Linked DNA regions of Homo sapiens: all the other regions are linked to region 1. The links are contacts of gene promoters, found by promoter capture Hi-C in blood cells and fetal thymus (Javierre and others, 2016). All regions are on one chromosome and are shown on one strand. Each heading gives the region's core, a stretch centred on a gene start or on the middle of the fragment in contact. The rest is flanking DNA. Distances are from core to core; before and after follow the strand shown. Region 1 holds the start of LNCRNA-IUR (lncRNA imatinib upregulated). Region 2 overlaps MTMR2 (myotubularin related protein 2). Region 3 overlaps MTMR2 (myotubularin related protein 2). Region 4 overlaps CEP57 (centrosomal protein 57). Region 5 overlaps CEP57 (centrosomal protein 57). Region 6 has its middle 42 kb from the start of FAM76B. Region 7 holds the start of LOC107984377 (a long non-coding RNA gene).

Region 1 (3,850 bases), core at 601-3,100:
TCTCGATCTCCTGACCTCTTGATCCGCTCACCTTGGCCTCCCAAAGTGCTGGGATTACAGGCGTGAGCCACCGCGCCCGGCCTTTTATCCTACTTTCAAAAAACATACCCAGAGTCTGAGTGTTTCTCCTTACCTCCAGCGCCACTCCATGGCCCGAGCTCTGTTTCACCTGGTTCTCACCTGGATCGCGGCCTCCAATTTGCGCAGTGACCCCTACAGTCTATTCTCCAAACAGCAGCTGGCGTGGTCATTATGAAAAGCAATGTCCACCTGCTGCTCAAAAACCCACGAATGGCTCCCCATTTCTTTCCCATTAAAGCCAAAGTCTAAAACATTTACAAAGCGTTATATGATCAGTTCCTACCTGCTTTCCTTATGTTGGAGGCTGTGAAGCTCCTTAATATATAAACAGTTCTCAGGAGAAGGAATAAAAGCACAGCCACCTCCTCAGCAGAGCCAGTTTACACTCTGCTAGAGACAAGAGGAGCTGGGACCTTCTCCCCTAACCCTTACTGCATATGTGAGAGAAGCCAGACCTGCTGGATCGACTGGAAATGCCCAGTGCCTGAGACGGGGAGGAAAGAGAAGCCGTGGGGAGGAAAAGACTGTAAACCTAAAAGGCATTGAAGTCCCACCTCACCAGTTAGGCAGGGAGGAGAAAGAGGCCTAGGGCGCTCGGGAACTTGGAATAAGGTTGCCCTCTGCGGGTGAAACTGTGAAATATCTCACAGTGGAGGAGGGCGGAGACTGTTCGCAGAGGGGCCCGGCGAAAACGTCACCCTACTGGAGGTACGAACGCATCGCAGACTGGGGGCGCCCGAGCGCATCCCAGACGCGAGGGCAAAGGCCCAGGAGGACTGTGGGGCTCTCGGAAGTATCCGATCACCTTGCGAGGAGTCCGCCGGCTGTCCGAGCCTGATGTCACTGCAACTTCGATTCCTCCGACGCCCCTACTCTTACTTCCCAGTCTTCAGGCAACTTCTCCGCTTCGGCCTCCCCTAGGCCTTGGCCCCAGAGAGGGGACGCACTCCACAGGTGGATTCGCACGTGTGGGCCCTCGGCAGCACTTTCTCGTGCAAATTAACAGGTGGCCCTCATTGTGGAAGCACCGCCCAGCCTTTCCCGGGGAGGTCACCAGGGCGAGGCCGCTCAAGGTCTGCAGGCGCCCGGCGTTAGCGGGATCCTCCCCGCGCACTGGTCCGAGGAGGCCAGGAGAGGGCGAACCAGTCCCCGACCAGCGGCCCTTCCGGGGGTGGGCTCTGACCCCACCGAGCGGTTAGAGGGTCCAGGAGCTCCAAAGGGTAGGGCAGAATTGGGTAGATGAGGGTGCATTTTTCTGGGAGGAGTCTAAGGCGTCGCTGACTCTCAAAGGCCCGCATCCGGAGAAAGGGAAAGAGCCCCGTCCCGGGAGGAAGGACGAGAGGCTGGCCCGCGGGAAGGAGCCCTGGCAGTCCCTCCTGGCCTAGGTCTACCTCTTTGATCTCACCGTCCCCGTGGCGGCGAGTGCCACCAAAGATGAGAGAGGCCAGCAGGTATCGGGAGAGAGCTGAGGGGTCGGCGCCGGCGGGACCCCAGATTGGAGCCGCCGTCGTCGGACGGGCAGACCCTGCTGTAATAGCTCCCGGCCGGCCACGGTAGGCAGGTGGGGCCCACCGCGAGTCCTAGTGAAAAACACCTTCCTCTTGATTCTCTCAAAGGAACCCGAGCCCTGGGAAGGGACATCAAGGCGCTCCCGAGACTCCGGAGACGGCCAACAGCCCCAAAAGAGAGTACTCGGCTATCCAGCCGCCCTTATCCAAGCGGAGAATCTCTCTCCACCTCCGCCCTCCCGGGACTCAAAGTTGTTTGTGGAGCCTCCAGGTTTCCTTGTAGATGGGCACGATATGCACTGTGTGCGCGCGCGCGCACACACACACACACACACACACACACACACACACACACGTATATGTATTTTTCCAGTGGCCACTGCAGGATTGCCAGCTTTCGGAAATGAGCATCCGCTCTCTCTCTCGGGACTGGGCGTGGGGTTCACCGAAAGGAGAGGAAGAGACCTTGCGTTTGCGCTGGGCCTGCTCGATGCCAGGCCATTCTAGGCTTCTGTCTATCCTGGTTTCTGGTCTGTGCGTTGTGGGTAGCAGCATTGGCGTATTACGCCGGAGGGAGCAGGCTGAGCGAGGCTCCAGAAGGTGCGCAATAGCCGGAGAGGAAAGGGCGATGCTGTCACCTAGCCCCCTCCCTGAGACTCCATTCAGCCCAGAAAAAGGAGCTGCTTTCTCCCCCATCTACCCTAGGAGAAAATAAACGGTCGCTGGCATTTTCCTGCGTCTTTTAATTTTGCCAGAACTGTTTTGGGTTGGCTATTGTGGGCCAGGATGGAGGCCTTCTCCTCCCGGGAGCAAACCTGCCCACGCCCAGGCCGGCAGTGGAGTCAGCCTTGCCCCAGCCTGCCCTCCAGGGAAACAATGCCCCTTTGTCCCTCGCCCTCCCGGGGCTGATACAGCCCCTCCCCTTAGCTTAGGGCTCCCTCCCGTTAGAGCATTCCAATGATTGCCACAAGTCACACTTTTCTTTGAGGTCTCTGCCTGGGAAGAAAACAAAGCAGCCCTCCTAATCACACGGAGGGAGTGGAACTTTTCCTGCCCTCTGACTATGTGCCAGCCTTGGCTCCTCCCTGAAGCCCTGTCTAGAGGGCTTATTAGGTCACTTATGTTTTGTACCTCGTGTGAAGTCCCACAATCAGTAGATTATAGAGGGGAGCACAAACCCAGCAGTGTCTGACATAGAGAAATTACACATACATACATACACACATACATACATACATACACACACACACATACACACATACATATACATACATACATACATACATACACACACATACATACACACATACATACACACATACACATACATACATACATACATATATACATACATATATATAGTCTTTCCACCACCCAGGATTGAAAATTAATGCTGTTTTTGACATTGTCCGTTATCCACCCAAACCCTCCAAAAAGGCTGGCTGGCATTTGCTTGGCTCTAGTTCTACCTGCCCACCTTCTCCTTTGCCTAATCCTGAGTTTTCCCCTTCCCCACGTGTGTTCCCCTTGAGCACTTTTTTGCTAACTTCCTGCATGCTACTGTCATCTCAGAGACTGATTCCTGGGGAGCCCAACCTGTAACATGGAGCTCAGTGGAAAGCACATGGAATGTGGACTGAGACATGACTGTGTTCAAACCCTGGCTCTGTCGCTAAGTGGTTACTTGGTTTGGGGCAAGGCATTTAATCCCTCTAAAGTTCACTTTCATCTGGGGGGAAAAGATAACTGTGAGGATTAAGTGAGTTTATATATAGTGTATGAGTGCCTGGACCACTGAAGCAGTGCAGCAGATGTTAGCTCCTCCTTCAGTAATATTTATTGAACATGGCATCCCAAGTGTTACTAGAATTTATATTTCTACTTTATAAATTTTACTAGAATTTATGTTTTCATATTCTTGATACTAATACTGCATTTTTGAAAGGGGTGACTCCTTCCTTATTAAAGTTTTAGAACACTATCCTAAGTGAAGTACAATGGTTACTAAATTAGATGACATCTGGATCTGGCTGATCTTGAACAAGCAGGTTAATCATATAACTTAGCTAGGTCATTGTGAAATTTTCTCCTGTGTAGAAAGAGATATTAATAGTAACTACTGTGGCAGATGGCATTTTCCATAAATGCCTACAAAATACTTTCCATCTCAGCTGCTCTTCAGAAATGACCTTGCCATTCCTCCATCAACAGATGAAATCTAATTCCCCTTCTTTTGCATCTGGGCTGGCCTCAGGGACTTA
Region 2 (3,850 bases), core at 362-2,861, 770 kb before region 1:
CTTCTTATGTCTTTGGTTTTTGGGTTCTTGCCCAGCCCTTTTCTCTCTTTTCATGGCTTCACCTTCTTAATTTCTTTCATGCTTTTCTCTACACTCTGATTTTCTTCTCGCCTCCCTTTTTGCTTAAATATGTAAATAAAAATGTCTCCTGTGCTTCTCTTTTCTAAATCTTCCAGCTGAAAGTCAGTATCAAGGAATCTGAGTGGTTTTTATCCCCAGTGATAGGTTTAAGAAAACAAAATGAGTGGTAGTTTTCTTCCTTCTTGGGCTACTGGTTCTCCACGTTGTCATTTCTCTTGTAACAGATGGGAATTTTATCCTGGAATTTTGAGGAGGACTTTATGCAGCTTTGCAGAGAGCTTTTATGAATATTAACTAGACGCGTTTTGGATGCAGTCTTTTTCTTTGATTTTAAAATAATGATTTAAAAATTTTTTAAAAAATAATATAAGACCTGTATTTGCTTTTTATGCAGCCACGATGAAATCTGGTTCTTTTCCACTGAATAATAGTCTAATTGTTATTAGAGAGTGATTCGATAACTGCTGTGTGAAAACACACAATTTTCATTTTCTCCTTCAATCAGTTGAAGTGGCTCTATTATAATTCATTTTGGATTCTGCTAAATATGGGTAGTTATTGCCTTTTTTCCTGTTGATGTTCAGCACCTCACTGGGGAACCACTGTCTGATCCCGTCATTCTACATTGCCATATGCACTCATAGCTCCCTGCACAGTCGTTTTTCAGAGTCTTTAATAAGCACACTATAATTGTTGGCTTAAAGTGCCTTTTCTACCAGGTTATAAGCTATTATACTTGAGGGCAATCTTAATCATCTTCATATCTCCAGCACTTAACATAGTCTCAGCATGTGATAGGTGCTCACTAAATGGTTTTTTTTTTTTCGAATTTGTAGCCTGAATTATCCAGGAAAGGAGGATTTTTCTTTGCAGTTTGATTATATATATTGCACGTTTGAATCAAGTATTTTTTGAATTCTGTATTTATTGCTTTGAAATTTGGAAAGCTGAGGATTAACATGTTCAGTTGTGTAATTCATTCAGAAAACAGGTTGGAAAATTCGAATTTTATGGGAAAGTTACAAATGACAACTATGCCTCAGAATAGCATAAGAGGCAACCAGTACTCTCATCCAAGGCAGAGAAGTTAGAACCACATGAAGCAGCACAGTATGTTAGAAAGAAGGAAGTACTGGAAGTTAGGAAGCTCCCATGCTGAAGTCTCTGGCTGAGCTAGCTCTTTGGTCTTTTCATTTAGACTTTCTAGTCTACAGTTTTCTCATCTTTTAAAATAAGAAGCTTGATCTAGAAAATCTGTAAGGTCCCTTGGAACTCTAACATTGTCATTTTTAAAATTTTAATGACAATACTAAGATGAATGCATTGATATTAATTTTAAAGATAATTCCTTTGCAAATAACCTTTGTTTTGGATTTTTGCAATTACACGAAATAAGTGTCCTTTATTATTACAAACTAATATACCTAACGGTGCCACTTGAACATATTTATTTCCTAAAACAGAAAGCCCAGCAAGTATAAAGATTATATATGTATATGAACTTCTCTATAAAAAATTATGTTACTGACAAATTTGAGAAAATTAAGTACTCCTCGAGAGAATTGTGATATAGTAGATTAGCCTAATCCTCTCTGGACAAAAATATAAGTATGATTCCTATTTTCCATAAGAGAATGCCAGCTTTCATTACTCTCCTCTGGAAGGTAGAAAAGTAACATTTACTTAATGTCTACTGTATGGAAGTTTCCCTGCTAAATTCTATGTATCTTTTATTTCATTAATCATCATACCTGTTTGTGGCACTCTCCTTAATCAACAGTATGTAATAGATACATTATAGACACTAGTTAGAAAGCTTAATTTTAAACAATCTAGGCTAACACTTCATCGCAGGTGACTCTAATACATTGCCAGTGTGGCCTGCTTTGGTCTCATAGCTATGTTAAGTGTCTATCTAGATTGTTTAAGTTATTTCTTTTGTTTCATTAGCCTTTGACAAAGCAAAATTATTGCTGTTTGGCCTATATTATCTCAGTTTTTGCAGAAATGATTCCCTTAAATTGTAGTTTATTTTTATGCTTTCTGTTTTTATACAGAGGCCTAATTGGGAAACTGCCTTTGGAATTTGTTTTGATATCTCTGGCAGAATAATAGTTAATATTGTTAAATGTGTCACAGAATGTTTTTCACACATGCATTAACATAAATTTCTGCTGAGTTTAGCTACAAAGAAAATTATTTATAGAAAAAATTATGTATGCTCCTTGTTTGTTAGTAAGTGGTAACTATATAACTGCGTCTTTCTCTTTAGCTTAGTAAAACTTTAGTCAAATTTATATCTGAAGGTGGTAATATACTCATCTCTAATTTCTTTAAGTACTTTTATTATTACATGAACTCAAGTTAAATATTATGTGTTATGTTTAAATGTATTGATTAGATGTCTGAAGCCCTTTTGGGAAGTAGGAAGGATGATACACTAATCCATGTGGTTGCCCATTGTTTTTTGAAAATGACATACTTGGCCGAGTGCCATGGCTCATGCCTGTAATCTCAGCACTTGGGAGGCCAAGGTGGGAGGATCACTTGAGCCTAGGGGTTTGAGACCAGCCTGGGCAACATAGTGAGGCCCCATCTCTAAAAAAGAAAGACTTTTTAAAATAAGTAAAAATATTTTAAAAAATGAAAATGACATACTCCATTGAAGTTGGATTACAGGCTGTTGTGCAATCTGTAGTTCACAATAAACATGTGATGAGTCTTACTAAGTATCTGTAGTCATTTCAGAGTTCTCTTGTCTCCAGTTATGCCTTCTAGGTCATCATAGATCTGATGCTTTTGCCCACAAAAGGGCAATTTCATTCTTCATATGATATCCAGGTAGTAGTTTCCTAACCAGCTATAGTTATGTCATCCTGCATCTTTAAAAAAAAAAAAAAAAAAGTAATCGTCAGCTGGGCGTGGTGGCACGCACCTGTAACCCTAACTACTTGGGAGGCTGAGGTACCAGAATTACTTGAACCTGGGAGGCCAAGGTTGCAGTGAGCCAAGAACGCACCACTGCACTCCAGAGTGGGCAATAGAGTGAGACTCCATCTCAAACAAAAACAAAAAAAACAATAGTTGTCTTTGGTGAGTCCTGCTTAATATTGCCATACTTCAGTAAACTGTTCAGCAACTCTTGTATATCTTGCTGTTGGCCATTCTTCATGTATATCTATCCCCACAGAAAGAGAGAGGGAGTTGTGGAAAACTTCACTTTAGCATCCTAATAATCTAGTTATATTCTGTAATTTTACTTTTGTTGGGTGTGCTCTGATTCTTGATATAAGTATGACTTTATAAGATATAGGTAAAATAATACTGTAGGTCAGATGTGATAATAAGAGTAGGCTTGAGTCTCAGAACTGTAATGAGTTACACAGCAGAATTTGACATTATATTGGTAATAATCTGCCATCTTAGTCTGGTTTTCCATTTTTCAGTTTATACACTATTATAAAATGCACTGCTTTAGTGGGTTTCTTTGATTAGTTTGTATTGTGCATAATCAAATGGTAAGATATCTAGTGCCGAATAGGTGCTGAGTGAACATCTAAATAAAAGAATGTTGACGGAATGTTCACCACTGGTCTTGTTTGTTGTTCCCATTCAAAGGATTAAAAAGGATTCCTTCTGTTGAATTTGGCCTGAACACTTGCAATTTCAGGTCTAAGCTGAAGTTATTTTTATGGGAGACTGGACATCTTGAGCTGATTTTACTGTTCTGTGCCCAGTCCTACACACAATGAGGTTATTATGTCCTCTT
Region 3 (3,850 bases), core at 520-3,019, 690 kb before region 1:
CTGGCTATAACAGAATCAAATTTCCCTAGAGTTATAAGACATATAGTTGGGCTAAACTACTTTATTCTCCCCCAATCCTTATCACACAAAGAAAGTTTATTTACTCAATCACTCTCTTCTGGTCTCTGCTCAAATATCACCTTTCTGAGAGAGACCTTTCCCAGCCTCTTTACAAAATAAGAGTTCTACCAGCATTCCCTATAACTTCTATGGAGCGTTTTCACTTATTGCCATCTGGTATACTGTATATTTCCTTGTTTATTTGTGACTGGTGGGCCTCACCCAAATAGAATGTAAACTTCAGTAAGCAGGAACTTTGTTCCCTGCTGTATGGCCCGTGCCTAGAGCAGTATCTACCTTCTAGTAAGGGACTCCATAAATGTTTATTTAATGAATGAATGAACAATTACTACTTTGGATAACTCTTCCTGATCAATCTTAACTAAGCCTTTGGGTTAGTGATTCTTAACTTCGTATATGCACTAGAATTATAGGTGGAATTTATTTAAGATACTGAATTAGGATCATTGGACAATGAGGTCTAGGCACTTCAGGCTTACAAATGACTCTTGATATATAGTCAAGATCGTCATAGTACCCCATTTCCAGAATATGCTTATAGCTGTGATCAAGGGGAGGTTATCATACTTCCAAGCTTAATAATCTGTTTTCTTTCATTCTCATCTGCGTATGTAGAACTATACTGTTTTTCAAGTATAATACAATATGGCCATTGCAGAGAAGAATAGGGCTGTATTGTCCTTTTTTTTTTTTTTTTTTTTTAAGATACCATACTTTTGTGTTTCTTTTTTGGTTATATCTAATTATGTTTAGTTTTAACTCAAGATTGACTTCAGAAAAGGTAAGTTATTTTGCAAAGGATTTCTGCATATTTAAAAAAATAAGAGCTGAAGTTATTTTAAGTAACAGATTGACATATTCTGTGAATTTTCATGCAGTGTTACAGAAAAGTAGCTCACTCTAAAGTTTATACTGTGCTTGCTGTATGCTCTGTGACATAAAAATCTTTAGTCAAAACAATACAATAACTGCTATAGAGTATTTTAAAGAGATCCAGTATTATTGCTTTCAGGTGCTTATCCCAATTTGGTTTAAGCATTGTTTTAAATCATAACAAGGCTTCAATTGCTATATCAATTATTTTTATTTAAATAGATGATGGAATATTTGATTCTTAGAAACAGATCTCTTTAGAACTTTTCTAAGAAGAATCTTACACCATGATTTATGTAGCACCCAAAGGTACTTTTGATTTGGCTATTTCGTTGGGCAAATTAATAGGAGTCAGCAATTATGAGGTTTTTCTAGTTTTAAAAGCAAAATTTATATATCTTCTACCATTTAAAAAAATTCTTCTTAGGAAGGGACAAATGTTTTTCCTCATGTTATTGAAATAATGATCCCTGATAAGCTGTATTAGTAAATTTTGAAGAAGGAAGTATTTACCTTGTTTAAAAACAATGTATTAAAAAATCTGTTTTCCAGCTTATTCTTGCAGGGGCTCTTAGGATTGCTGACAAGGTAGAGTCAGGGAAGACGTCTGTGGTAGTGCATTGCAGTGATGGTTGGGATCGCACAGCTCAGCTCACTTCCCTTGCCATGCTCATGTTGGATGGATACTATCGAACCATCCGAGGATTTGAAGTCCTTGTGGAGAAAGAATGGCTAAGTTTTGGACATCGATTTCAACTAGTAAGTAAGGAACCTTGACTTTGGATATATCACATGCATTCATGCCAAGGCATGTGAAAAAAATGTGTTTTTTAAAATAAGATATTCATCTGAAATTGATCATTTATCTAGTGGGGTAAACGTTTTTGCTTGTTTTGGAAAGCATTAAGATATCCCTAACATGACTAGTCTGGAGTCAGAGCTAGCTATTTGTCAAGTGTCTGACCCAGTCTTTTCTGTGATCTCCACTGGGAAACATCGGATATCATTCAGTGATGTCCACGGGTGTTTCTGGGCAGGCGTTTTCCTAAATAATTGAAAAACTTTTAGAAGGGTCTTTACCCAGATGCTGTCTGTAATGTTTACCTTTAGTATCCAGTAGTTACCAGAGTATACTAGCAGTGTTTATACAGTTGTCCCTTGGTATATGTGGGGGCTTGGTTCCCAGATCCCATGAACAGGCCAAAATCCACACATATTCAAGTTCTGAAGCTGGCCCTGCTGGGACCATGTAAAGTTGGCCCTCTGTGTATGTGGGTTCCGCATCCTGCATTTGGCTGAAACAAATCTGCATATAAGTGGACCTGTGCAGTTCTAACCGTGTTGTTCAAGGGTTAACTGTAACATGAAAGGAACAGACATTTAAAGTTAGTCTGCTCTTTTGAACTTGAACTGTTAAATAAAATTGGGTACCTGGAGTGTTTATTCAGATGGCTCACATTTTGCCGTTCTCTACACAATGTACTTATCATGAAACGGCCATTTAAAACAAACTCGTACTTCAAAGAATCAAGTTTTAGTCAGCCAAAGCTGCACATGTTTATATAAATGTGTTCAAAATCAAACATTTTGGGGTGTTCGAAGTTGCTATGGATTCCTAAATTGCTAACTCTGGTTACCTACTCCCCCCGTTCTTTTTACCTAGTTATATTCTGAAAATAGAATCTTGACAATTAAAGGGCACCCAGTCAAGAGGATTTGCTCACAAGGTTAATGTAGAGTAATGATTCTCAAACTTTTTGGTTTCAGGACCCCCTTTACATTGTTAACAATTATGGATAGAACTTTTTTTTCCTAACTCCCCAAACTTGTTACCCAGAGAACTTTATGTGAGTTATATCAATATTTGCCATATTGAAAATTAAATTTGAAAAAATTTAAAAATATTTCTTAATTTAGGAAATAAGCTTATTATATATTAACAGAAATATTTAAACTAAAAAAAATATTTTCCAAAACAAAAAGTTTAATGAAAAGACTGGCATTGTTTTACTTTTGCAAATTTAATGAGTTTGGCTTAATAGAAGATAGCTGAATTTTATATCTATTTTTACCTTCAATCTGTTATGTTTTGTTGGTTTTAGTATATGAAGAATATCTAACCATATACAGATATGTAAGTGGAAAAGCAGAAAGTATTTTAATAGCTTTTTCAGGGAATTGTAGATATTCTTCTTTGATACTACGCCAGAACTTGATAAATGGTAGTTTCTTAGAGGTTAGTTGTTATATGGAATCCAAAATCAAGTTAATGAATTTTTTTTATCATTAAATTCCATTGGTCTCACTTCCATTTTGAATAGATCTTTTACCCATGTGTGGTTTTGTAACATCACATATTGGTTATTTGGAAAATACTGGCTTATTGAGTTACACAGATCTTCCAAATGTAAATGCATTTCATCATATAATACCATAAAATCACACTTGTTAATCATCACCATTGGTTTTGTCAGAAAAGCCTTCAAGTATTTTTAAGCTCATTATGGTGGGCAAAAGTTCACCAAAAATTGAGTTTTCACTCAAAAGCTTGAATTTTTTCATTGACAACAAATATTGTCAGCTGTTTTCCTTTCAGTGATAATTCACATTGTACCTTTTCAAAAAAAAAAAGTCTTTAAGTCTTTCTAACCACAATGCATACATTAATTTTTCTTTCAAGTAAAAATGATGAGAAAGTGCTATCTCCTACCATACTACATGCAGTAGCAAAGAGTTAACACATATTTCCCGTTTTGTCACACAGGCCATTAAAAAAAAAGTGTACTTAAGGGATGAGATTTAATAAAATCAGTAATTTTTACTGCGTTGTTAAGTACACTGGCATAAGAGAAATGGACTTTTTTTCTTTAATTTAACTGTGAGTGTCTGGTAGGGT
Region 4 (3,850 bases), core at 1,000-3,499, 680 kb before region 1:
TTTGCTTGTATTTCTTTTTCATACATGAACTTTGAAAAAACAGCCAAAGTTTTAGAGTTGAAAAGGCTAGTTTCATCCCAGCTCTGCCATTTCCCAGTAAGCTGGTACTTGGGCAAGTTATTTAATTTCACTGAGGATATATGCATACTTCCCAGAAAATGTGGCTTAGCATCTACCTCATCTATAATATGAGAATATACCCACCTCAGAAGCCTTTTGTGAAAATTAAATGAGAAGATATACTCAGAGCACTTGGCACTGTGTGTCTATCATATGGCTACCAATCAACAGTCAACAAAACTGTTCTGCTCTCTGAACTTCTCAGCTTTCTCCATTTTAGTCAGTGGAATCACCATCCTAACTCCCTCTCCTTCTACATGATACCCAGCAGCAAGTAACCCCAATATTTTTTTTACTTCCAAAACATACCTCAAATCTGTTTACCTCTGCCCAAACCCAACTACTGTCTTGCTGACCACCTCTGATACATCTATAGCTGATCTCTCAGCCTCTCTGCCTTGATCCCATTACCCTACCCCTAGTCACTACAGTAATCTCTTAAATATATGAATCATGTTTCTCTCTGGTTGAAAACCCTTGAGTGTGATGTCACCACTGCATCTGGTAGTACTACATTGTTGGCTGATATAAAATGATTAGCAACATAAATATATTTCACATATTTAATGTATGACTTATTCCTTTGGAAACAGAATTTCGCAGGTGCTTTTAAAAAAACTTACTTGGATAAACTCCAATTTAAATTCATCAAAGAAGTTAAAGCTTATTCATAAAGAATATTAAATATATTCAGTATTTGAAAGATGTTTCTTAGATGAATATGCTAAGTGACTAAAAGTGTCTTCTTTCTTAATCCACTTACCAATTCTCAATGAACAAATGTCTTCAGTAAAGAAGTATCTCCTGTAGATATTTATCTATGATACACTTAGTGTCATCATTTAATATTTGAATTAAAGTGTTTTTTTTTTCTTAATCATTAGAAACTTGAGTGAAGGAAAACTGAGTTACCTGGGCTTGGTATTTTCGAACTTTAGTTATTTGGTTGGCTTTTGCTTCCATCCTTCCCACTAATGCCTCCAATTCACACTCCAACTTGTCTTTCAGTTCAACGGTTGGCGACTCCTGGATAAGTTTTGCAAGCTGCTGGTGATCACTATATACAAAGCAGAAGTAGAACATGGTTAAGTTTTCTGTGTTTCATGGTTAGGTCTATTATACCTCATTATGGGTTACTGCTCCATGTGTTTAAAAAATGACTCCATTTTTTGAACAGAGCAATAAATTTTTTTTTTTTTTTTGAGACGGAGTCTTGCTCTGTCGCCCAGGCTGGAGTGCAGTGACATGATCTCGGCTCACAGCAAGCTCTGCCTCCCGGGTTCACGCCATTCTCCTGCCTCAGCCTCCCGAGTAGCTGGGACTACAGGCGCCTGCCACCATGCCTGGCCAATTTTTTGTATTTTTAGTACAGACAGGTTTTCACCCTGTTAGCCAGGATGTGATATGCCCACTTCAGCCTCCCAAAGTGCTGGGATTACAGGTGTGAGCCACCATGCCTAGCCTAGATCAAGAAATTTTTAATTAAAAATATGAATTTAAAAGTTCAAGAAAGGCACTAGAGGGAAATGCAAGAGTTCTTAATTTCAAGGTTAATTCTTTATATTCTTATTTTCCCCAAAAGAGTATTGTATATGTAAAGTCTACAGATGAATCTTGCTCTTCAAACACTCATGTCTTATCAGTTAAGTTTAGCTAAAATGAATGTGATGTCAGGTGCCAGATGATGATGTAGTAAACAACAGACCACATATACAACAGTGGTCCCGTAAGACTTTAGTATCATATTTTTACTCTACCTAGATGTTTATATACACAAATACTTACCATTGTGTTACAACTGCATATAGTATTTAGTAGTAGAGTAACATGCTGTATAGGTTTGTAGCCTAGGAGCAATAAGCTATAAGCTTAGCACACTCTTATGTTAGCACAAGGAAAAGAAAATCGCCTAATGATGTATTTCTCAGAGCACATCTTTGTCATTCAGTGATGCATGACTGTATATCATAAGTTCTCAAAGAAATAAAACTTAAATATAAACCTTGGTCTTCAAAACATTTAACAGTATTTAAAAAGAGAGAGATTTTACCCTTATTAGTTGTATTTGTTAAAGTCCCAGTAACTTGGTTGGTATAAGGATTGTGCTCAACCATACTTGCTCAACAAAGGAAAGTAAGATTTAATAAAGTCAACAAGTTTTTAAAAAATGAGGTTTTAGAGCTAAACTGAATTTAAAAAAAAAAACAAAAACTCACAAGCTCATTTGCCCAAATTCATCCTGTAAAGTCTGTAAGACTTCTGACAACTCCTCATTAATACCGTTGGAGGAGGGAGGTGTTACTGACAACTTCTTACTTTTACCACCTCGTGAAGATACTTGCTTTGCCAAAGGAATACTGTTGATGACTCGATCATTGCACAAAGCTTTACTGTGTTGCTTCATTAGATGCAAGACAAGCTGAACATTGGCTACCACGGCATGGCTAGGGCTTGTGGACTAAAGGAAGAAAAATGATGAAAGAAGTAATTGAAGTTATATTCTCTACACCACTTTCTATTCCCTAAGCCTAGGTAAAAAGAACTCTCCACCCCCTAAAGTAGAGTATATAAATCCTAAAATTATTCTCATCATGATGTTCTTCTATTTGAAATCCTTTGATATAAATCCACTAACTATGTTTCAGAATGGAAAATAAGGCCCTACATACACATCATTGAGCTGCAACCTACATTTCCTAGCCTCATGTCCTATCATCCTCCCCTTCTCTCCATTTTGTGAACAAACCATATTTGCAGATGACATTTTTTTGGTGTATTAGCAACATTTATATCATTCTTTAAAACCCAGTTCAAATATATTATTTTTAAAGGCTTCCTTAAAACTGCCAGGTAATCAATCAGTCCATTATCAGATCACCTATAACACTTTTTACATCTCTCTCATAGCATTTATCATATTTTAATTGCTTTTACATATCTATTTCACCTATTAAACAGTGTACATCCAGGTGGTAGACACTATTGTTCATTTCTGTATCCTGGAATAATAGGAAGCACTAAATTACATGTCTATCACGTGTGTAAGAAAAACCTGATAGACTTCTCAAAGATATTTTGCTTTTGTTTTAAACACTAAACCAACAATCTCAATGTACTATTCCACTTTATAAATAGATGGCTGGGCTTACTTGGCTCCATAAATATTATTAGAAAGCATATTTAAAATGCAGGTTCCTAGGCAGCACACCAAACTCACTGCAGAGTTAGGGTTTGGAAATTTGTGTTTTCAAGTCCTCCAGTTGATTTTGATTAGCCAGATTTGGAACCACCATGCTAAGCTAAACATATGCTTTCCTTCTAATCTTAGTTTCTATTGTTAGCTAGCAAAGTGAATGCAGCAGTATTATATATCACATCCAAGTGGGAGTTTATTACATCAATGCAAGGCTGGTCCACTATTCAAAAATCAATCGATGTAACCACTATTTTGCTCGTAACTTGTAATATATATTTAGCATACTAATTGCCTATGAGTACACTTTCAATATGCAATAATTTAAAAAATTCTCGTTCTGTTATTTTTCTGATTATATTAATATGCACTTGACCCTTGAACAATGGAGGGGTTAGGGGCACCGACCACCCATGTAGTCAAAACTCTGCCATAATGAAATTTTTTTTTCCTTCAACTTTTAAGTTCTGGCGTACATGCGCAGGTTTGTTATATAGGTAAATGTGTGTCATGGTGGTTTGCTGCACAGATCAACCC
Region 5 (3,850 bases), core at 922-3,421, 650 kb before region 1:
CCAACCCCTTGCGCTTCCCGGGTGAGACAACACCCTGCCCTGCTTCGGCTCATACTCCATGGACTGCACTCACTGTCTGACAAGCCCCAGTGAGATGAACCCGGTATCTCAGTTGGAAATGCAGAAATCACCCGTCTTCTGTGTCACTCACACTGGGAGCTGTAGACTGGAGCTGTTCCTATTTGGCCATCTTGGAACCGGACCAAGTTGTTCTTTATTTCCTTATTAATTATACCCAGCTTACTTCCAAAAAGCACTTAAAGAAAATGAACATTAAGACTAGGATTTTTTCTCAAATATCTTACAGATTACAGGATGGTTCTTTTGAACTCTGAAAAGCAAGCTGGCTTTGTGGTCACTTTTATAATTGGGTCAGAAGTCATCAGTGCTTTAACAACACAGTCTTGGGTGTGGTGTTTCCTCCCATCATGTTTTCTTTCTTTATATACTTGGACAGTTCTTCCCAACCTCGAGATCAGATAAACTTTGTATTTTTAAAATTATATTTACAGTTTCATATGTTTACATTTGTTAAGTCATAGAAAAAGTGTTTTTGTATTGAAAGAAAAACTTTAAATGTCAAATTGATCATACACTAAATTCACACACACATATATATATATATTAGATACTGTAACTCTTTGTTACATACACACCCTAAGACAGTTTCAGATCTTTCTTCTATTCTGGATTCCTTAATGTTAGGGAATTAGTGCCAGTATTTCAATTACTAAAATTTCATAAACATTGATTCTAACAGTCACCTATATTATATAAATCTTAAAACATTTCCAAGTAATTATTTAGAATCATTTTGTCTAAACACTAATTTAAACTATACACTAGGTAGGGAGAGCTGCCGTCTTTTACGAATTGAGTCCTCTTACTCAACCCAAAGTATTCTTGTCCATTTATTAACATAATTTATTCCTTCACCAAATTTTTCAGTGCCTAGGATATTACAGGTCTCAAATAGGAGACTAATACATTTTATCGAAGTCAGCTTATTCTTGCTGGTATGCAATGAGACTACAATATAACTAGAAAAAATGCAGACATGAAACAGACACACACACAGGAAGAAACCTGAAAAATCAACTGAAAAGACACTCAGAACTAAACAGAAGCCTAAATATAAGATTAATAATAAAGGGAACAATTCTTTTATATACCTGCAATAATCAGATAAGTACAATAGAAAAATAAAATTTTAAACGTCCTTTAATATCCATTGAGTTTTCTTAACCTCTTCTGAATCAGAGGCAAATTCACTAAAGACTTTGTAATATCAAACATTTTTTGCACTCCTTCATTAAATTATACCCAACAGTACACAATGTTGCTGATACTTTATTTCTGCACTTATATTTATTATTGAAACTGGCTGAACATTTCATTTTTGTTCTTTATGTCAGCAACTGTAGTATCACAAGGATATGCTGGGGTGTGCACTTTTGTTTTATGTATTCTTGAATGGCTTACATATCCCTGTTTAAATGCGTAACGTTTTATTGTTTTCTTTTTCAAAAAATTACTGAATAAATGCAGAGGATAATTTAGAAAACACATGATTGAAAAGGAAAAAAATCACACCCATAATCTTACCATCTAGATGTAGTAATTATAAACATTTTATTGAAATTCTATAGATTTTAAAAATGCTTTTATATGTGAGATTGACCTTTACTATGTCATATTTATTTATATATGAGCACACTTTAAATGCAATTTATAATATTAAGCATTTTCATTAACAATGTATAGCTCTCATTATGTATTCAAGTCTTCACGTATGCACCTCAGTAAGCACATAAAATTGGCTTGAGTTGACTTATCAGAGGTGACTTTTTTTATCCAGTCTCTTCCTGAGACCACGGGCCGCAGTGTTCCAGTTCTGCTTTGACAACTCTCATCACGCCCACCTTTTCAAAGTATTCCAGAAGTTGCCTCAGGGGCGCCTAGAGCTTTGTTCTCCAGTCGCTACCCACATTTAAAATTCCATCATCTCTGCTACTGTACCCCAACATTTAAGGCTTATACCTAATGCCAAGACTCCTAATACTGTCCCTAAGGTTTTAGGCTTTAGTTCCATCCTTACTGTCCTGGCTTGAAACTCATTTTATTTCTGTACTTGGGTATTTCTCCTTCTCACTTTTAAACTAGGTATTATTTGTTTTTATTTAGTATTACATGAAGCTGCTATTTGCCTATACTAACTGTTTGACAGTAGTACTGCCATCCATCGTTTTTATTTGTATGGCAGTAAACACCTTTGTCAGCTATTTATTTTTTGTTTCATTTTATTTCAGGTTTTACTTAAAAAGCATATATTGGCTTTTGAGTTGACGTAATCACATTTGTCATACCTGATAAATTTCATATTTTTCATTATATTTTGTATTTCCTAATTTTGTTTCCTGAAATTTTTCTTTTATTTTGCTATATGAAGTATAGCACACATCTTTGGAACTGTTTCCCTGACTTATATACCTCTTTTTCTGGGAGTTTCCCCTTACCTCAACATGGCTATACCTACAACTTTACTATCCTTTGACAAATCTGGCTAACTGATCCACAAGGGACACACGCTGAAACCCAGATAATGCTTGCTTGTCTTCTTGGGACTTTTGTCCGAAACATCAAAGCCAGAACTGGTTCAACTTAAAACTCAGTAATTTTTAGTAATGTTTCCTGCTAGGCAAAAAAAAAGCTCTTTTGTAGCTAGAAAAAATGAAGCTAGTTACAAGCCGAAAAAAAAAAAAGATGGAAAGTGCTAGCCATGTTTGAGTCCCTAATGTTCTTCAAGTCCACCTGGGTCTATTTATTGCTTGGGACATTTCTGTCATTAACATAAACACAGGTTTATGTTGTTGTAGATTAAGGGGCGGGGGGGCAGGGGCCAAACCTGTAATATGCATCTTTGATTTCTCTAATATTGCTGTCTTGGTAGTTCTCCACCTTTCTGACTTTTCCTACTTTTTAGTTTACTGTTTTAATGGTGGTATTTTCCAAAGCCCTTTTCTCCCTCTACTTTCTTTTTCTGGAGAAACCCCTCTATACTCATAGGCTTCATCCACTACTGTATCCTTGATGATGTCTGAGTTCATTAGTAGTGTTCTCTATTATACTTGACTTTTTAATTTTCATTTGCTTAGTATTCATCTCCATCTAATTCACAGGCATCTCAAATTTGATACAGCCAAAATTATATCAATTCCTCTAAGTATGCTTTTTTTGTGTCATCTGTCCTAATCATACCCCTAATCATCTTCACTAGAAATCTTAGACTCAAAGATTTCTCCATCTTCCTCATTCCCCACAACAAAATATGCATAAATCTTTCCTTAATCAGTCTCCTGTTCTGTCTTGTTGCTTCAGTTTAGACTTACTTCTGATGTAAACCTCAGTCCCTCAAACATATAGACCACATACAATGTGTGAAGCACTCTGCAAGGCGTGAAGACTGTCTTTGGCCTCAAGGAGCTATCATCTAGATTCTGGAACAAATGCTACTATCTACATTCTTCTCACACCTGGTAAAAAAGTATTTACATGAACAAAATACTACTCTGGACATACTCATATCCTTGATTACAGTGGTTCTCAAAATATGGGGCATAGGCACATTGAGGGCAGAGCTCATGAGGCCTTTCCCAGGGCCTGTGAGGTCAACACTATTTTCATAATACTATTAATAGTAAGACTTCACTTTTTTCACTGTGTTGAAGTTTGCCAATGATCATGCAAAAGCAATGTTGGGTAAAATTCCTAATTTTAGCTCAAATCAAGGTAGTAACACTAAACTACTATTTTAGGCATTGTATTCTTCACTGTCATAAATTCCCAGTAA
Region 6 (3,850 bases), core at 991-3,490, 600 kb before region 1:
GAGGAATATAAATATCCTTAATAAATAATAAATAGGATATTCCTTAATAAATTCCTTAATTTCATTTTGAAACAAAAGAAATTATTTATTAAGGAATTTTTATTTATTAAGGAATTATTAAGGAATATCCTTATTTATTAAGAAATATCCTAAACAATGTGTAGATAAAATAATATGATGTCTTGGATTTGCTTCAACATAGCCCAGTGAGGGAAAGAGGAGGAGATCGGATTATAGGTGAACCAGATTGGATATATGTTGATATTATGAAACCAATGAGAAGTACATGGGAGTTCTTTATACAATTTTATCTCCTTTTGTGTAAGCTTGAAAACTTTCACACTGAAATTTTTTGGAAGTTTACACACACACACACACACACACACACACACACACACGGATAGGTATTAACCTCTAGAATGGATTTACCATATTTAAAAGAGTAATAAGGAACTTCCAATAAATTGTATTTGCATTTATTTAAGTCAATTGTTGTCTTGGTAGATAACAACTGTGTAGCACTTTTTATTTCATGAAACCCTTTGACCTTCACAATAATTCCACAAGGTAGGCAGATGATAAGTGTAAGCATAGAGGAATAAAAGGACATGTTCAAGGTCACACAACTAGAACATGGAGGATGCAGGTCTCAAATTTGAGGCTTTTGGTTTTATAACTCATTGCCATTACACGATAAGTTACTATGCAGCAGTAGTTCTTAATATTTAGGGGCTGTGTGACACTTTGATGACCTGATCAAAGCTATGGAACATTTTCCCAGAAAAATGCAAATGTGCGCACATCCAAAAATGTGAAGACAATTTCAGGGATGGGGAGGTTCCTTTCCTCCAATACATCTGAAGCCTACTCATGGATCTCAGGTTAGGCATTACTGCTGTATAAAGAACATGCTTCTTAGTCAATTCTATTTCTCCTTTGTTGGCTATCATAACTCAGCCTTCCAACAGAGTTCTGGCTTGCTCCCTCATCCAATTAACTACATCAAATCTGCTCTCTTGCCTTATTTCTTTGTCTCTGATAATGATCTGAGCATTGAGCATGAAGACATCCTCCCTTAGCCTTAAATCAGCAGTTCCTCACAGGCCCTACAGACACCCATTTCATTTTGTAAAGTTTCATTCACTGTTCCTCATATCTCTTACAACATTACTAGTTTAAAACTATCATCTCAATACTGAGAAACTCAGGTATATTGTCCATAAGCTATTACTGAAATGGTGCCCGGTCATGGGAAGCATGGAGAATTAATCTCTCTTCTGTGCTCATATAGCTCTCTAAGCATGTCTCTATCAAATGAGCTCACACTATGTTATAATGATCCTGTTATGTTTTGCTCCTTCAAGAGGTTGTGAGCTCCTTGGTGACAGAAACCATATCAATTCATCATTAGGGAATGGCTAGCACAAGGCAGGTGAAACAAAGTAAGAGTGAAATAAACATTTCTTGCATTAATAAATAAATGAATCCAAACATTCCATTCAATGAAATACTTAAAATCGTAAAACAAAACAAAACAAAACAACCTGTACATCCTTGCCACGTACAACTGCATCAACCTCAGAGGTCAATTAGGTAGGAATTGTTTTGAATGCTTCCTTCTGTTGCTCTTCCAGATACTAGAAGGAGAGAGATATATATTAAAGGTTCTCCAGTTCTATTAACTGTCTTCCTGGAGACTTATTTTAAAGCCTCATCTGATTAAAATGTTTAGTCTCAATGACTGGCCAAGAGGAGTGATTATTGATTAGCTGTTTTCTTTTGGGTTAAACATGAAAGGCAGAACTATTGTCTCCGGAAGGCATTTGCTGAAAAGAACAGGTGTTACCTTGATAAAAAGCAATAAACCCTGAGCTAGTCTCCCCACCACTGCTGGAGCCCATCTACATAGTCCCTGAATGGGGAGTTGGAGGCTGAACAGATGGATAATTAGGCAAGAAATTCTGTAGAGAGATATTTTGAAAAAAGTAGGAGCAAAGTGTGCTACATGGGAGTCCAGAACCAAGGATGGAGGTGAGGAAAAGTGGTTAGGCAGGAGATTGCTGCTAAATGAAAAGGGTGGAGAAACTTTATTATGAAAACCTTGCCAAAACAACCGTCTTTGACCATTTGTTCTTTGCTCTTCCTCAAAGTCTGTTTAATGATAAAAAGAGATTATTATGGTCTTTGAAGGAGAAGGTTGTCTTTTGTAGATTAATGTGACTTTTACTTAAATCAGAAACCATTTTGCCTAGAGTATAATAGCAATCAAACCAGTGTTTGACTTCCATAAAGTAACTGAAATTGGACTTGGCCTCCTACCAGAAACACTAGAAAATTGTACAAAAATGTATTAAACAACTGTCTTCAGACTTTGGATGAAAGGTAGTACAGGGCTGTGATCCTTGAGAGAAGGTAAATCAGTAATGTGGGCCCTAAAATGATCTCAGCTTTCTGTACTTTAGGGACAGCACATAGCAGGAGAACCCAAACAGAACTCAGTGGTCTTGTTGTGTTGAAGACATAGAAACTACAGGTTGAAGAGGCTGAGGTAGCTGTAGTTTGTAGAGTAGGAAACTGGAGAGTAGGGAGCCATGCAGAGAAAGGGCACCAGAAATTTGCATATAGGTCCACTTGAGTCTGTTGCTGAAAACTAAGCTATGCATGCTAAGGATGAAAACTTTATGCCAAGCAAGGAACCACTAGGGTGCTGCAAAATAAGCAATTTCCAGAGAACATACTTGACTGAAAGTTCCTTGAGTTCCAACCGGCCAAAGTGATGAGGCCTCATTAAACATTAAATACAGACCCTGGAAGACTTATACCTTAGTAGTAGGCTAGACTAACCCTAAGGGAAAAGCTACTCTAGACATTTTTAACAGTTTAAAAACAGGCTTCAAAAAGACTAGGTTGATCCACAAGTAATTTAATTGCCTTCCAAAAGAAACTTAAATACACTCTAATGGAAGACAACAAAATTTGGACACTCAGCAGTGTAACAATCACAATTCCCAGCATCCAGTAAAAATTTCTGGACACATGAAGAAGTGTATGGCTCATAACCAGGAAAAAGACAAGTCAGTAGAATCAAATTTAGAAATGACAGAAGTGGAATTAACATACACTGGATTTAAATATTTGTTAAAATTGCTGCAACAAATATGCTCAAGAATTTTTTTTAAAATGAAGTTAGTGAGGAAAGAAATAAATATTTAAAAATTGAAGCACATGGAACTCCCAGAGATGAAAAATCAATATAGAAAGTGAAAATATTGCAGGAGGGACATAATAGATTAAATACTGTAGAATAAAAGGTCAGTGAAATTGAAAATGTAGCAATAGAAACTATCCACATGGAAGCAGAAAAAGGAAAAAAAAGTAGCAAAATAAATAAACAGAGCCTCAGAAGTCTTTGGAATAATTTCAAGTGCTCTACATTTATGTAATTAAAATCCATGAAGAAAAAAGGGGGATTTTAGAAGTATTAGATTAAATAAAGAGAATTTCCGAATTGGATAAAAATCATAAAATCAATATAAAGAAAAAGAATTTCTGAATTGGATAAAAATCATAAAATTAATATACAATCATACAAACATCAGACAAAAAATCCACCAAGGCATATATTAATCAAATGTCTGAAAACCAATGATAAAGATCCTAGAAATGGCCAGAGGAAAAGAGAACTCTATATTATGTAAAAGGGAACAAAGATAAGAATGATATCAGACTTTTTTGTCAGAAATGGGACAAGCCAATACATAATAAAACAACAGATTTAAAGTACTGAAAGAAGACTAAAAAAGATAGGTTAACCGAGAATTTTATATTAAGCAAAATTATCCCTCAAAAA
Region 7 (3,850 bases), core at 685-3,184, 550 kb before region 1:
CAGATTTGGACCCACAGTGTTAAACTATAATGGAAATTAATAAGGTGGAAAATCAAGAGAGAGAAAACATACCATTTCTTCCTCTCTCTCTTTGATCAAAGTTGACTCTCCTCTCTAAGATAGTGGGAGGTGATATGGCAGGTAGTTCTTTTCACACTGACTCACAGAACTGCTCTGTGCAAGAAACAACTCCCTCTTTGTGAAATCCAGGAACATCATGGCTGAGGCAAACAGAAATGCATGAGTAAAGGGATGTGCTGTTCAAATGGGCAGAGATGAGCAGCCTACCCTTGTGATCTTTCATACAGAAGGACTTCTGTTTGTAAAAGGCAGGGAAGGAGAGCTTGCTGAAGAAGCTGCCCTCAACAACAATATTTTTGGATTCTTACATGCTGATCTTTTAAGAAGTAGCTGAATTTCCTCATGAAACACTGTGTTTTTTCTCGTCTTCAAATGACTCAATCTGGCGTGCTGGAAATTTCAGTTTGTGGCCCAGCTTTCCTGCAGAATAGCTACATGGTCTTGCACAAGGTTTGCAATCCATGGAGAAGATAAGACAATGGGTATAAAATGTTAAGTCCTAGATGAATGAAAATAATAATTATTATGTAAGGAGTATCCCAAATCCATTTTCCTTCCTAAGGAGAAGACTTAAATTAGCCCTGTCCAAAAAAGAAATTCTTGCTAATTTTCTTTTTATCTCCAATCACCAGCATCCCGACCACAGGTCTTAACCTAGCATAGTATCCTTCCTCTTTCTTTGTTTCTTCCTGTAGAGTGTGAATACTACTTTTAATCTTATGTAGGTATTATTCGATGATTATTATTCTACTCTTTCTGTTCTCTACATATTGATCCTGCAAATATTGGCTGTTTCAGAGAGTGGAAATCTCTCAAGGGCATGGAATCATAAAAGTGAAACACAACTAGGTGTTGACTAATACTTTGTGTTAACTTGAAGACAAGGTTGATGATGATAATGATGATCTTTTTCACAGTTTACTAAAAGTAAGGGAAGTGGTAAATTTATTCCCAAACATCCCTCAGAGAAAGATCCTAAGATGTATGCAAAAATCATGGAGAGAGAAAAAAATAATGAAGAAAAGGAAGAATGACCTAGTCTTGTCCTTTTACATGTATAGAGAGCATTTCCACTTCTACATTTCATCATTATGTGAAATTCAACATGTCTTAAACCAAACTCTCTTTTCTCCCTCAAAGCAGCTCTCCTGATTAGCGTCCCCATTTCAGGTTTATTCTCATAGCTTCCTAAGCTCAAAACCCCTGAGTCATTTATTACTGCTGCCTCTTCCACGCACTCATACCCAATCAGTAATCAAGTTCGTTGTTTCTGCCTTCAAAATAATTTTCATATTTTTCCCCTTCAGTTGCCATGGATACCGTAAAATTTCCCTTTTTGCTTCATGCCTGGACAACTGTGGTAACTTCCCGAGTCTCTCGGCTCCAATCTGCCTTGCAGACAGCTGCTGCTGGAATAATTTCTTTTGCCATGTCATACCCCTGCCCAGAACCCTGCAGTGGCTCCTCACTGTTCTTACTTAAAACCCAAATCCTTTAAAGAAATTTGCATGGCCTTCTATAATCTGACCATATTTAAAGAATCCCTGCTAATTTACACGATGACTTTGTGCAAAATTGAGAAGTCACCCCCTCTGGGCATAGGAAGCCTTGCGATTTAAGGCTCAGCTAAAGAATCAAGCCTTTTTGCATTCTAAAAGGTGGTCTCATCCTTAGGGTGTACCCTGTCCTGCTGTAGAGTACACAGGGCCCTTAGAGAGCAGGGCAAAGGCTGTTTTTCAGCCTCCAACCACTCAGAGGTCCTAGGAGTAACCCTCACGGCCATAGGCAGGCCCTGCAGCCTTCCTGTTCAACCTGATTTCTTTTTGCATGGAAGCTCAATCCTTCTCTCGGACAACTTTGCTTTCCCTGAACAAGCTGTACTTAAGTTTACCAGAGTCCCTTGACTCATGTTTTTTGCATTTCTTGAAATACACTTCTGTTTCTTCATAGCTGGATAATTCTTGCTTGCCCTTCAAAGTTCACCTCCAATGTTACTCCTGTGGGAAGCCTTTTCTAACTCCATCGTCTGAAAAAAAATGACCTTCTTAGTTCCTATAGCAGTGTGCATACTCAGTTGTAGTACAGAGGAGTCAAATTTGATAACCTACGATGCAGATGGGCCAGAGTATGTACTTTTCAAATTTTGGGTGGCTGATTTTATGTGGCTCTGGATTTTAAGGTAACTCTGTGTGTTTTGGATAAATAATCTGACACTTCAAATGTTCTAACTGCCCTCTCTAGGGAGTAGATAGAGTCTGGAAGCAAGGGAAGGTTTGCGTGAATTAATGGTATCCAGGAAGCAGGGGAGAGGTGGGCAATTTATGTGCTGTCCTTCTTTGCTTGCTTCTGGGGCTCTAGTTAAGCTCATCCCACCTGGTCTTTGGGAGTCAGCCTCTATTTACATTAAAGCTGCTACTGAGCAGCGTATGGCTGTTGTAACTCCACTCAGGTTGTATTCTTCCAGGATGGGTGAGGCATGATGATGGCTCTTGTGATATGATTACACACACACACACACACACACACACACACACACACACACACACACACACACACACAGGTTTTCATATACAGTTCCTAGCTCAGAAACCTCATAATCTTTGTTATATTCTTTTGTCACAATGTTGGGGTACTTTAGGCCTTAGGAACAGGCCTCAGAAAATGGAATCTCTCTCTCTGACCTTCTCCTGCCTTCTTTTCACCTGCCCAAGGCAGGACTCTCATCTGATTGTGGGTCATGAGAACCTCATTCCAGAGTGGGTTCTACCCCATACTCCGCAGGAAGGAATGCTGCACAGAGAGATCCAGAAAACCCTGAGCAGGCAGGCCTTGCTGGGTTTATTCAGGTCATATCCTTTCTGTACAGTCACATTGTGACACAGTTGTCCATGCTTCCAGACCTTCCCTATGTATCTCTTCATTTGGCTGTTTATTTGTATTCTTTAAAATATCCTTCATAACATACCAGTAAATATGTTTCTGTAAGTTCTATGAGCTGCTCTAATAAATAAATCAAACCCAAAGATAGGGTCATGGGAACCCCAACTTGAAGCTGATCGGTCAGGAGTTCTGGAGGCCTGGACTTGAGGCTGGTGGGAGAAGGGGGCAGACTTGTAGGACTGAGCCCTCCATATGTGATATCTGTTGCTGTTTCTGGGTACATAATGTTAGAACTGATTGGAGGATACCCGGGGAAAAACCCCCACACTTTGGTCACAGAAGTCTTCTTCTGTGTTGATGATTGTTGTTGTGGTATGAGGGCAGAGGAAAACATGGTTTGCGTGTTGCTCTGAAACAGTATCCAAAGTGTTTGGCCATCACCTCTTGTTGATCAGGCCCCACGCTGGCTCTCGCGGTGCTTCAGATTCCCAGTGACTCCATTCCATCCCCAGCTTGGCCCATCGTTGCCTTGAGTAAGTTCACCAGCCAGCACTCATGGTCCACATTCCCGGAGGCATTCAGGAGCTTCTGGACTCCTTCCACATCATATGAGCACCATGGGAGTCAGTTGTCCCATAGCAGGCCTGTCTCTGTGGACACTTCCCTTTGTTGTTCTACCACTCCAAGGCCAGCTTGGATAGCCTAGGAAAGCAGGGCACTAGCATGGAAAAAATGCTTGTGGGTTCTGTCTCAATGTGCCTGGAGTTTTGTGGCAATTTCTGCTGCTGCAAAACCCTCCAGTCTCTATATACCTGGCCCCTGTGCTGGGGATAAACTCAGGGACTCATGATCATCTTCTCCCTTGTCTAGTCTTCTGTAGCTCTCCCTG

What was found. Contacts are between HindIII fragments. The CHiCAGO score rates a contact against its expected background, and 5 or more counts as called.
Region 2: a fragment that was not itself captured here is called in contact with the fragment with the promoter of LNCRNA-IUR in region 1 in 1 of 17 cell types (erythroblasts); the score reaches 5.8 in erythroblasts.
Region 3: a contact is called between a fragment that was not itself captured here and the fragment with the promoter of LNCRNA-IUR in region 1, in 1 of 17 cell types (erythroblasts). The highest score is 6.5, in erythroblasts.
Region 4: a fragment that was not itself captured here is called in contact with the fragment with the promoter of LNCRNA-IUR in region 1 in 3 of 17 cell types (erythroblasts, naive B cells and total B cells); the score reaches 7.1 in erythroblasts.
Region 5: a contact is called between a fragment that was not itself captured here and the fragment with the promoter of LNCRNA-IUR in region 1, in 1 of 17 cell types (naive CD4 T cells). The highest score is 5.5, in naive CD4 T cells.
Region 6: a contact is called between a fragment that was not itself captured here and the fragment with the promoter of LNCRNA-IUR in region 1, in 17 of 17 cell types (M2 macrophages, megakaryocytes, non-activated CD4 T cells and 14 more). The highest score is 16.5, in M2 macrophages.
Region 7: a fragment that was not itself captured here is called in contact with the fragment with the promoter of LNCRNA-IUR in region 1 in 17 of 17 cell types (total CD8 T cells, megakaryocytes, M0 macrophages and 14 more); the score reaches 30.4 in total CD8 T cells.

Annotation. Positions count from the first base shown.
Region 1 is chr11:95,148,539-95,152,388 of GRCh38, reverse strand. LNCRNA-IUR (lncRNA imatinib upregulated) reads right to left here and starts at 1,850. Exons shown (of 3, transcript NR_110303.1): 1 at 641-1,850. RefSeq lists a silencer at 621-730 and enhancers at 1,251-1,380, 981-1,522, 1,523-2,064. The HindIII fragment of the contact is 7,632 bases long and covers 1-3,850 here.
Region 2 is chr11:95,919,617-95,923,466 of GRCh38, reverse strand. The region is part of intron 1 of MTMR2 (myotubularin related protein 2); the gene reads left to right. Among named protein-coding and RNA genes, the nearest start is that of MTMR2, 2.6 kb to the left of the region's middle. The HindIII fragment of the contact is 577 bases long and covers 1,323-1,899 here.
Region 3 is chr11:95,842,816-95,846,665 of GRCh38, reverse strand. MTMR2 (myotubularin related protein 2) reads left to right here. Exons shown (of 15, transcript NM_016156.6): 11 at 1,507-1,713. Among named protein-coding and RNA genes, the nearest start is that of CEP57, 54 kb to the right of the region's middle. The HindIII fragment of the contact is 2,224 bases long and covers 658-2,881 here.
Region 4 is chr11:95,826,514-95,830,363 of GRCh38, reverse strand. CEP57 (centrosomal protein 57) reads right to left here. Exons shown (of 11, transcript NM_014679.5): 9 at 2,337-2,578; 10 at 1,033-1,177. Among named protein-coding and RNA genes, the nearest start is that of CEP57, 38 kb to the right of the region's middle. The HindIII fragment of the contact is 517 bases long and covers 1,991-2,507 here.
Region 5 is chr11:95,802,605-95,806,454 of GRCh38, reverse strand. The region is part of intron 2 of CEP57 (centrosomal protein 57); the gene reads right to left. Among named protein-coding and RNA genes, the nearest start is that of CEP57, 14 kb to the right of the region's middle. The HindIII fragment of the contact is 4,822 bases long and covers 1-3,850 here.
Region 6 is chr11:95,745,793-95,749,642 of GRCh38, reverse strand. No RefSeq gene overlaps it. Among named protein-coding and RNA genes, the nearest start is that of FAM76B, 42 kb to the left of the region's middle. The HindIII fragment of the contact is 3,824 bases long and covers 329-3,850 here.
Region 7 is chr11:95,695,762-95,699,611 of GRCh38, reverse strand. LOC107984377 (a long non-coding RNA gene) reads right to left here and starts at 255. Exons shown (of 2, transcript XR_001748337.2): 1 at 73-255. The HindIII fragment of the contact is 4,092 bases long and covers 1-3,850 here.